Regions from separate parts of the Homo sapiens genome. Here region 2 is linked to region 1. The links are contacts of gene promoters, found by promoter capture Hi-C in human tissues and cell types (Jung and others, 2019). All regions are on one chromosome and are shown on one strand. Each heading gives the region's core, a stretch centred on a gene start or on the middle of the fragment in contact. The rest is flanking DNA. Distances are from core to core; before and after follow the strand shown.

Evidence for each region. Contacts are between HindIII fragments. The study calls those that stand out against the background at their distance.
Region 2: a fragment that was not itself captured here is called in contact with the fragment with the promoter of SYNE1 in region 1 in 1 of the 25 tissues and cell types used here (hippocampus).

The regions. Positions count from the first base shown.
Region 1 is chr6:152,634,826-152,639,955 of GRCh38, reverse strand. It overlaps SYNE1 (spectrin repeat containing nuclear envelope protein 1), which reads left to right and starts at 2,594. Exons shown (of 146, transcript NM_182961.4): 1 at 2,594-2,767; 2 at 3,151-3,318. RefSeq lists an enhancer at 4,967-5,096. The HindIII fragment of the contact is 20,643 bases long and covers 1-5,130 here.
Region 2 is chr6:152,669,978-152,675,107 of GRCh38, reverse strand. The region is part of intron 4 of LOC105378061 (a long non-coding RNA gene); the gene reads right to left. Among named protein-coding and RNA genes, the nearest start is that of MYCT1, 25 kb to the left of the region's middle. The HindIII fragment of the contact is 3,884 bases long and covers 20-3,903 here.

The DNA.
Region 1 (5,130 bases), core at 1,345-3,844:
CCAGGCTGGAGTGCAGTGGCACGATCTCAGCTCACTGCAACCTTCGCTTTCCAGGTTCAAGCAATTATCCTGCCTCAGCCTCCCGAGTAGCTCAGATTATAGGCGCCTACAACCACGCTGGCTATTTTTTTTTTTTTTTGACAGAGTCTCACTCTGTCGCCAGGCTGGAGTGCAGTGGTGCAATCTTGGCTCACTGCAACCTCCGCCTCCCAGCTTCAAGTGTTTCTCCTGCCTCAGCCTCCTGAGTAGCTGGGCCTACAGGCATGCGCCACCATGCCCAACTAATTTTTTATATTTTTAGTAGAGATGGGGTTTCACCATGTTGGTGAAGCTGGTCTTGATCTCTTGACCTTGTGATCTGCCTGCCTCGGCCTTCCAAAGTGCTGGGATTACATGCATGAGCCACCGTGCCTGGCCAATTTTTGTATTTTTAGTAGAGATGGGGTTTCACCATGTTGGCCAGGCTGGTCTCGAACTCCTGTCCTCAAGTGATCTGTCTGCCTTGGCCTCCCAAAATGCTGGGATTACAGGTGTGAGCCACCATGCCTGGCCAACTCCCGTTCTTGAAAGCTCTCATAGCAACATTTGCCTTTGCTTGGAGAATGGGGTTTTATAAGTATTTGTGTGGTTCTCTGATGAATGTCTGGCTCTTCCCCCATCATACTGTAAGCTCCATGAAGGCAAGAGCCCGGTCAGAGTTTGCTTACCACGGTAGCCCCAGCACTTAGGACAATATTTGTTATGTGGTAAGTGTTCAAGCAATAGCTGTTGAGTAAATGGAGCTACAACACCCTTCCCTGGGGTGTGTGAAACTGACAAGCCCTTTGCAAAACTCTAAAATGTGCTTAGTCCTTCTACAGAGGATAAAGTTTAGCTGAGAATGGGATTTCAGCTGTATAGGGAATCAATGCCAGCAAGACAGCTCTATGCTTCTGTCTGTCTCAGCCTGTGAGAACAGAGATTAGGCCTAGTAGAGGAGTTTTAGTTGGTGGAAGCAATGTTTCAGGCTTGTGTTTTAAGTGGCTCACTTCTCAAGTAAGTAAACCCAAGAAAGTAGTTGCTTAACGTGTAGAATAGCAAGTTGGTGGCCAGGTGCAGTGGCTCACACCTGTAATCCCAGCACTTTGGGAGGCCGAGCTGGATGGGTCACCTGAGGTCGGAAGTTTGAGACCAGCCTGACCAACATGAAGGAACCCTGTCTCTACTAAAAATACAAAATTAGCCAGGTGTGGTGACGCATCCCTGTAATCTCAGCTACTCAGGAGGCTGAGGCAGGATAATTGCTTGAACCTGGGAGGCGGAGGTTGCAGTGAGCCGAGATTGCACCATTGCACCCCAGCCTGGGGAACAAGAGCGAAACTCCATCTCAAACAAACAAACAAACAAAAAGAATGGCAAAGTTGGCACAATAACTTTCTACCCATCTTCAAAAGCCGGCAGGGTGGATTGATTCTATGAAGGTAGGGATTGAGAGGGTGAGCTGAGCCATTCTGATCTGTTTCTTCTGAGTGGCAAGCCTGGAAATCTGGACCCCATTTTGTGGCCACTGGGCACAGAGGGCTGACCTGGAATAATTATGCTCTGGTGGTTGTCTCCACAAGGGGCTCTGGGGGTGCCCCAGGATTGTTGCCCTCAGGCAGAGGCAGGGCATACATTGAGAGTGATCCCAAACACTCCTCCTCCAGGCCCAACTTTTGGAGGTAGCAAGTTCTGCAAATAGAGATCCATTGTTTGGTTTCTCTCTCTAAAAAAAAACAAAAGTCAGCACAAAGAAGAGGAACACATCAGATTGGTTTACCAGATTTGTTTCAGATGTTATTATTTTGACACGATCCAGAAGAAGGAGAATTTGAAGAAAATGGAAAGCTAGGCAGTGGGAATGTTGGCAGCAGGTAAGGGAAAGGCAGGCAGCAAAGAGAAACTTCATCTACTTTATAAACTGCTCCTTCCTTTCAGCAAATTTAGAGGATAAATGACTGTTTTGTTCAGATTGGAGATTCAAGGGGGGGATTATTACTTTTAAGATTATTGCAACATGGCTTCGATTATTTTAGCTGCAATCATCCTGTTGGACTTGGACTTCACTGTTGGTGAAGAGAGACTGTGTTTGACTTTGCCTGGATACCATAAAACCACAACAAAATAAATTCTCCTGAATGCTACCAGGCAACACCAAGATCTCTTACACCACGAGAAGGACTTGTGGCCAAAGATACAAATGGCTCCGCAATGTACAGGGTGCATACAGTGCACCTGAAGAACCTAAAAGTGGTTTTTAGAATCATCATAATAAACAGTCAAGAATTAAAGATGTCAAGCGCTTTCTCAAGAAGTCTAAACTTTATACATAACATTAAAAAAGATCTATAAAGCCTGACCAGTCTCCCTCAAATTAAGTTATTTGCTACTGACTTGGCAGCCAAAACGATTTAGGATCTTTCGGAAGTTGATGAAAAAGGAGCCAGCGGGTTTTGCTCTTTGCTCTGCATCACGCCCTTCCTGGGACCATCAGGGAACCTCCCAGCCTTTCAGGATAGGTTCCGCTCAGAAAGGTCACCCGGGCAGTGGAAACCGTGGGCAAAAGTTAGCTGGCAGGACAGCGCAGCTCCTCCAGGCAGCGGAGGCAGCGCGTCCCGGCTCTCAGGGACATTTCCTTCCCACCTCGACCCCCGGGAGGTGGTCCCGGTATAAAGGCTCGCTGAGCGGGTGGGTCACAGCACAGCTTTGCAGCTGCGGAGAAACGCCCAAGGCCGTGCATCTCCAGGAGGTAGGGAAGCCTGCGAGCCTCCGGGTCCCCGCCCCCAGCTCTTCCAGGCACCGGCGCATCCCGGAGCCGGGCGCGGGGCGCGGGGCACGGAGCCGGGGAGGGGGTGTGGCGGGCCAGGGCGGTGCAGGGACCCTGCCCAGAGGCTGAACCGGCCTGGGCGACCTTCCTTCCCGACAGGAGCAGTAGATGCGTGGGGGAGGGCGAAGGGGGAGGCCTCACCCCCCAGCGAGCAGCCGGGAGGAGGAACCGGTCGCGGAGGGCGGGGAGCGCGGCTGAGCAGCCCGGCGCGGGAGTGAGTGTGGGCGAGCCAGCCAGGGTGAGCGCGGGCGCCGGGCCGCGGCCGCCGGCCGCAGCGGGCTGAGATTGTTGTCCTCTGTCACCAGGGCGGCTGGGCTCCCGCAGTCCTGCAGACCGCGCCCGATCCCGGCGACAGGGCGGGCGGACAGCCGCGCATCCCCGGGGTCCCGCCGAGCCTGGGCGCAGAGAGCCGGGAGGAAGCGTTCGCTCGCTTCGCCTTGCTGCTGGGAAACTGAACGAGGCCGAGAGAGAAGGTAAAAGGAAAGACAGAGACTGGGAGACAGGGAGAGACAGAGACAGGGAGAGGAGAGAGAGGTGCAAGACGAACACATTGCAGACAAATTGTCAGCAAGTTTGTGCCTGCACGCTGGGGCTCTGCGTGCTTGATGGGAGGGGGTGGTGGCAGTGATGTGTGTACGTGTGCGATACTCATAGATAAGGAGACTAGGAGGTTGGGGAGCCTCTTTGCATCTCGTACGTAGATGTCCCTATTAATATCCCCCTCTCTGAGTTGTCATTTCCGCTTGTGGCACATCTCCTGGGCTCCAATGGTGCAGAAGCAAAAGGCAGCCAGCCTCTTATTGTGATGGTCGGTACTGTTGCTACTATCAGATGGGAGAGGTAGGGCGTTGAACAGATTCTAGGAGCCTCCCTTCCTCCACCCCCTGACTATTTTAGGAAGGGCTGGGGGAGGGAAATGGCTTGAAGGCTGCGCGGAGGCCCTGGCGCGTCAGACTCCAGCGGCGCTGTCATGGTGCAGTTGCTTCCCGGCAGAGCCTGCACTAGAGGGCAAGAGAACTTTCGTCTCCTCTTTATAAAGATACGTTTCACATAGAGAGATCTTGCATTGCTGGCGGAGGAGTTCTGGGAAATGGTGGTGCACAGGCGGCCAGGTGCATCCCAACGGGCAGGCATCCGTGCAAAACGAAGCAGCCATCAGCCGCACAGGAAGAAGCCCCTTGGGAAGGCAGGCTGGGTGTGCTGACTGGGATCCCAGACTTTGGATGCTGGAAGTTCTGCCCCCTTCCGTAAATAGAGTCAGGTCCAGCCCAGAGGGAAATATCAGCAATGAAGCCTTAGCATCCCACAATGTTCATTTCTGAGCTTTTCGTTTTGGGGTGGAAAACTTGTATCTGAAATGTTCCTGTGAATGTTAAGAAAGTTAAAAATGAATTATTTTTCTCTTCTTTAATGCCCATCCATTTTTTGTCTTCATCTGAGAATGACTTTCCTAAAGACAACATTCGTATACAGAAGCCAGACCTATGCAAGAGAAAGTATAATAATTTTCAATGAGGCAAAGGTCATTAATATGACCTACATCTTCATAAAATGCGAATTTAATCACGAGTCATGACGATTGTTCTTTGAGAGGCTTTTTATTCCCCATGGTGAAAAAAGATTTGTAGTATGGCTAAAAAGTTCCTGATATCACCGGAACAGTGTGACAAAATACATATCTATTTTTTCTTTTCTGTTCATTACTTTGTGGCAGATTTAGAACAAAATGTGAGAGATCTATACTAACTTAATATGTTTCATGCTGAAGATTAAGAAACAGCTTCAGACTGACCCAGATAACAATATTTGCTAGGCTTTGGAAATATTTGCCTAGCTCTTATTTTATAGTCTCACTTTCATCTTTCTGAACTAATGATTTTCACAAACTGGTTTTCTTCTGTCCTCATTGACCTCATTTAAGAACTCTTTTTTACTTGAGTCCTTCCTGCCAGGGAGAGGAGATTGGAAAAAGCTAGTTTGCCATTTAAAAATGTTCAAGAATTGTTTGGTGCTGCACTGGGCCTACTTTCTGATAACTATGCTGCACACACAGCATCTTGGAAATGAAAGGAGGTGTGACTGTCACAGGATGTAGGAAGCCCATAACTGGGCAAGGTTGGTGGCATTTTCACAACTCCAGCTCTAGCTACTGCAGCCACACCCTGTGGTCTGAATGTGACAGGCATGCAGGGCCCAAACGCCTCTGCGAGGTCCTCTGTGTGTCTCCTCTTAAATGTGTACTTCTTTGTGGTCTAATCTAACGAGAACTAATGTTTGGCAAGGTG
Region 2 (5,130 bases), core at 712-3,211, 36 kb before region 1:
AAATCATTCTACTCTAAAAACACATGCACACGTATGTTTATTGCAGCACTGTTCACAATAGCAAAGACTAGAACCAACCCAAATGCCCATCAATTATAGACTGGATAAAGAGAATGTGGCACACATACACCATGGAATACTATGCAACTATAAAAAAGGATGAGTTCGTGTCCTTTGCAGGGACATGGATGAAGCTGGAAACCACTATTCTCAGAAAACTAACACAGGAACAGAAAACCAAACACCACATGTTCTCACTCATGAGTGGGAGTTGAACAATGAGAATACATGGACACAGGGAGGGGAATATCACACACTGGGGCCTGTCGGGGACTGGGGGGCTAGTGTAGGGATACCATTAGGAGAAATACCTAATATAGATGACGGGTTGATGGGTGCAGCAAACCACCATGGCACATGTATACCTCTGTAACAAACCTGCACATTCTGCACATGTATCCCAGAACTTAAAGTTTAATAAACAAAAATTAGTTTTTAGCTAAAACTTGCATTCTGTTATTAGTAAGTTTTCCAGCAGCCTACCACTATTTATGATTTTTCTGTTTATATTCTGTTTATATTCTTGTTTTAGGAGCTGGCACGTGTCTTGACTACATCACTGGCATTTTACATCCTTGGTTCTTTGCCAACTGATTTCCTTCTTTCATTCCTTCCACTCTTTCCTCCATGTTTGCTTCTCTGAATTTAAATTTCTTCATTTGTTAATAGGGGTGACAATAACACTCATCACACAGAACTGAGAAGTGATCTAATGAAATGACCCATTTAAAGCATTTCGATCATTAGGTCAGTATACAGCAGCTGTAATTAGTGCCTGATATACACAAAGTCCTATTATTAATGTCTTATGAAAGAATTTGTATTAGAAAATCTCTAAGCTATTCTAGCTATTATTTTGACCTAATTTTATGGTAATTATTATCTAATTATAGTGAGTTCTTGTGTATTTTTTAAATGTCAGGCTATTAATATGAGAAGATAGTTATTTAAAATGAAACAATGGTAGTGGACTTTAACAGAGACAAAACGGGTTTATTCAATGTCTCAATCAGTATCTTTGTAGAAATTATATTTATGCAATAGCACTGAAAATTAAATGACTAGTAGAAACTGAGAAAAAGGAAACAGTAAAACAACGGTAGAAAATGTTTTCAGTAAATGTTACATTTGAACATATATTATTAATTTTTACATGGGAATAGTAGCATGATTTAATGCTTTTGAATAATTTAAAATAATTTTACCTTGAAAAAATGTAGGTAAACAATAAAGAAGATAGTTTGCGTTTTCCCATAGGAAGAAAAAATACGTCTTTATTATACCAATTTGTTCCAGGGGAATTGATGACATGTAGAAGCATATGTCTAACTGGCTCAGATAAATCGTCCAGATACAAAATGTTCCCAATAGCGTTGTCTACAGAATGTACTTTTTTGTCATCAATAAAAATGCTGTCTGAGCTTTGGAAAGGTACCATAGTAAATATAATAATGAATTTTTTTTCCTCTGACTTTTGCTTCCATCAGTCTCTTCTCTGTCTCTTACTGGTCATTGAAATTTTGAAAGCAAAATGCAAGCCAGTGCTGAAGTAGTTGTTTTTAAGCATATTAAAGACTCATTTCCTCTTACTTGGTTCACACCCTTATGAGAGGAATTCCAGGGAAGGACACAGTAGAGAAATATCCTTGAAAGTGTGTGTGTAATCAGTGGATATGTATTCCACTGGGAGTGATTTTTTTTTTTTTATCACACACAGTTTACATTAGTGGGTAATGAATCCCCAAAAATCCAAAGTTCTCAATTTCCAAATACTTTTCATCTCCTAACTGAGATTGTGTTAAACACTCTGAAGTGCAAACTATTGCTTGAAACAACTCTGGTTTATTATTATAACCTGAATTAACCCTCATCAAACTAATTTTAGGTGTATCATACAGGCAATAGATATGCTTCCTTAAAAATAATGGTAATCTTTTAATAACACTTGGGAGTTCATGATTTAAGGGAGCTTTTAGAGGATTGTTTTTGTAACATAATGACTAATTTTATAATAGAAAAGAATCAAATAAGGGACACTTTACAATAAGATAGAGATGTATTGTGTGGGTCTATATTTTTACATAACTTTAAATTTTATTTCTTTTTTTTTTTTTTGAGACGGAGTCTCTCTCTGTCACCCAGCCTGGAGTGCAGTGGCGCCATCGCGGCTCACTGCAAGCTCTGCCTCCCGGGTTCACGCCATTCTCCCGCCTCAGCCTCCCGAGTAGCTGGGACTACAGGCGCCCACGACCACGCCCGGCTATTTTTTTTTTGTATTTTTAGTAGAGACGGGGTTTCACCATGTTAGCCAGGATGGTCTCGATCTCCTGACCTCGTGATCCGCCCGCCTCGGCCTCCCAAAGTGCTGGGATTACAGGTGTGAGCCACCGCACCCGGCCAATATTTTCAACTTATGATAGGTTTATTGGAGTAAGTCCAAGAGCATCTGTACATGTTAACATGTAATTTTTGACATGGAGATAATAACCCAGGGTGTAGAAGGTATAACCTCAGCCTCTTTGCACCATATAACCACGGAACATACAGACAGAAAGAAATGATGCTCTGCAACAAGGAAAATAAGCTGTGAAGTAGTGGTGTTAAAGGAAACCCTTTACATTACACTTTGATGCTAATTGTCTCAATTAAAGACAAAAATGTTACCTTTTTCACATTAAGTGAAAAGAAGCTAGACATGAACAAAGATACATTGTGATGCCATAATATTGCTCTTAGAAATTGACATTTCAAAGTGATTGCCATTAACACTCATTACTATGGATACAGTCAAGAATTCATTTTTTCTGTCCTTCTAACAATGGTTTCAAAGTGGCTGAGCGGAACGGAAGACCTGAAAGTGGGCCGGTGATGCTATAATACTGGAATAATTATAAAACAATCACAAGAAAGCTTGTTTATTCTATAACCACATTATCCTATACGGTGGCCATATTTGTCCATTTAAATGTAAGTTAATTAAGACTAAATTAAATTAAAATTCAGTTTTTCAGTAATGCTAGTCATGCTTCATATGCTTGTAGCTAGCAAGCTTTCATTCACTTGTAACTAGCAGCTGCCATATGGACATCATAGATACAGATTTCCATCAGCACAGAAAACTCTACTGGACAGTGCTGTTTTATAATCACCAGATTTTTTTAAGTTACCCATGAAATTATGTATTACGTATTTGAGGTTATCCGTATTCTGTAAAATAGCAATGACATAGTAGAAATATTCTTCTATAGTATTGAAAGGCTCTGTAACCTCATGAGAAGAACACAAAATTCAGACTCACATAAGTCTAGATTCTAATCTTAACTCTGCTGACTGACCTTGGACATACTACTTTTTGTTTCTAAGCTTTTGTTCCTTCATTTGCAAAATGAGGTAGCAAAATGCTTGCCTCATAAGAAGTTTATAAATATCAGAAATAACATACGTAAAGGTGCTTCCTATGGTGCCTGACACATAGTTGGTATTAACTTATGGTTGTTATTGTTTTTATTAATTAACAAAGGAGAAGACAGTAAAGCTGTCGGTGGTCACAGACACAAGTCATACTTTTGCATAAAAGGTGAATCTTTATTTTCTAGAAAACGTATCTTATAAGCTCAGTTCATTTTCATAGTATCACACCAAAAATGTTTGTGATCATAGTAATCACAGAATAGTGAGGAAATGACCAAGCAAGGATAGGAAAATATATAACCACAAAGGAATCAGTGAGTCAGGAAGAGGATAACGAGAATTTTAAATGGTATGAAGCGGAAAAGACAGAGATAATAAAGAAGGACACAAATATGCAAGAATAGAAAGGAAGAAATAATCTCAGATACAGTTCCTCCTGGAAATATACCAGAAAGATATGTGAAAACATAATGACACAATCAAATAGGGAAGGGAAAATGATTTCTTACTACAAGACTGTGAGGAAACAGCTTTTCTATAAAATTATTTTTCCTGTGCTAGAGAAGCATATAAATCTAAAAGATTAAAGAGAAAAAAAGAAGGCAAAACTGCTGCAGAACATCTACTTCTGGTGTGTTTTTAACCTTATGCATGTTCTTCTAAACTGAAGTGCCACTGTTTTTAACACATAATATGAGTAAGATGAATTAGATATTTAATCCCTCCAGATTTAGTATATATTGTTCATGGTAAGAAGTTTGGCTTTGACGACCAAAATGTGCACTCTCTGAGAAGTTTCATCACAAAAAGGCACTCCTGTAAAGTCATGTGCCTCAATTGCCAGGAGGGGCATATATGAAGGATAACACAGTAATGGAGAACAGAAGAGTCACATGTCACTGTGGCCAAAGCTTCCATAATGGAGAATTAAGGAGTCAATGTGATAAAGCTGCAGAGCTAGGGAGGGATCTCAGGCATTGCCTGTATATTCCATGGGGAAAACCAGCTGCTTGAATTTAACCTGGACACTGGAAGAGATAAGGTGTTTGGAAAGGAAAGCAAATCAGCCCTTTTATATAAGACTGGGGCTTTTTAACATCCAGAATTTGGATGAAACAAGAAGCAGAGTGAAAAATTTGGGCAGAAAATTTTGAAACAGCCCAGAGTTCTCAGACTCAGCAATAAATTTCCATTTGATCTGGGGAAGTAAAGTCAAGATCAAATAAAGATAAAATTGAGACCTATTAATATAACCCAACATGTGTGTATTGAATCCCCATATTTGGCATAAAAGTATCAAGTACTGAGGATGCAATGATGACCAAAACTATCACAACCCCAGCCTTTTGAAACTTAACCATCTGTGTCTAAAAACAGGTAATTTTATTTCAATCACTGTTAATATTGTTAGTTTAATAAACATATATATTCTTATTGATAAAGGCATTTGTTTGGAAAAATCAGTCATATAAAGAGCCTATTGTAAAACCTTATCCACCATCTAAGTACTGCAAGGAGTTAATGAAACTCACCAGAAGATGGCAATACATAACCTCCTATCTCTGCTGTTATAATTGCTAAGGCCAAAAGGTAAACCTAAAAACTCCTATGACACCTCTATTACAATTGCAAATAACACTTTTTATTTTAGTTGTTTGC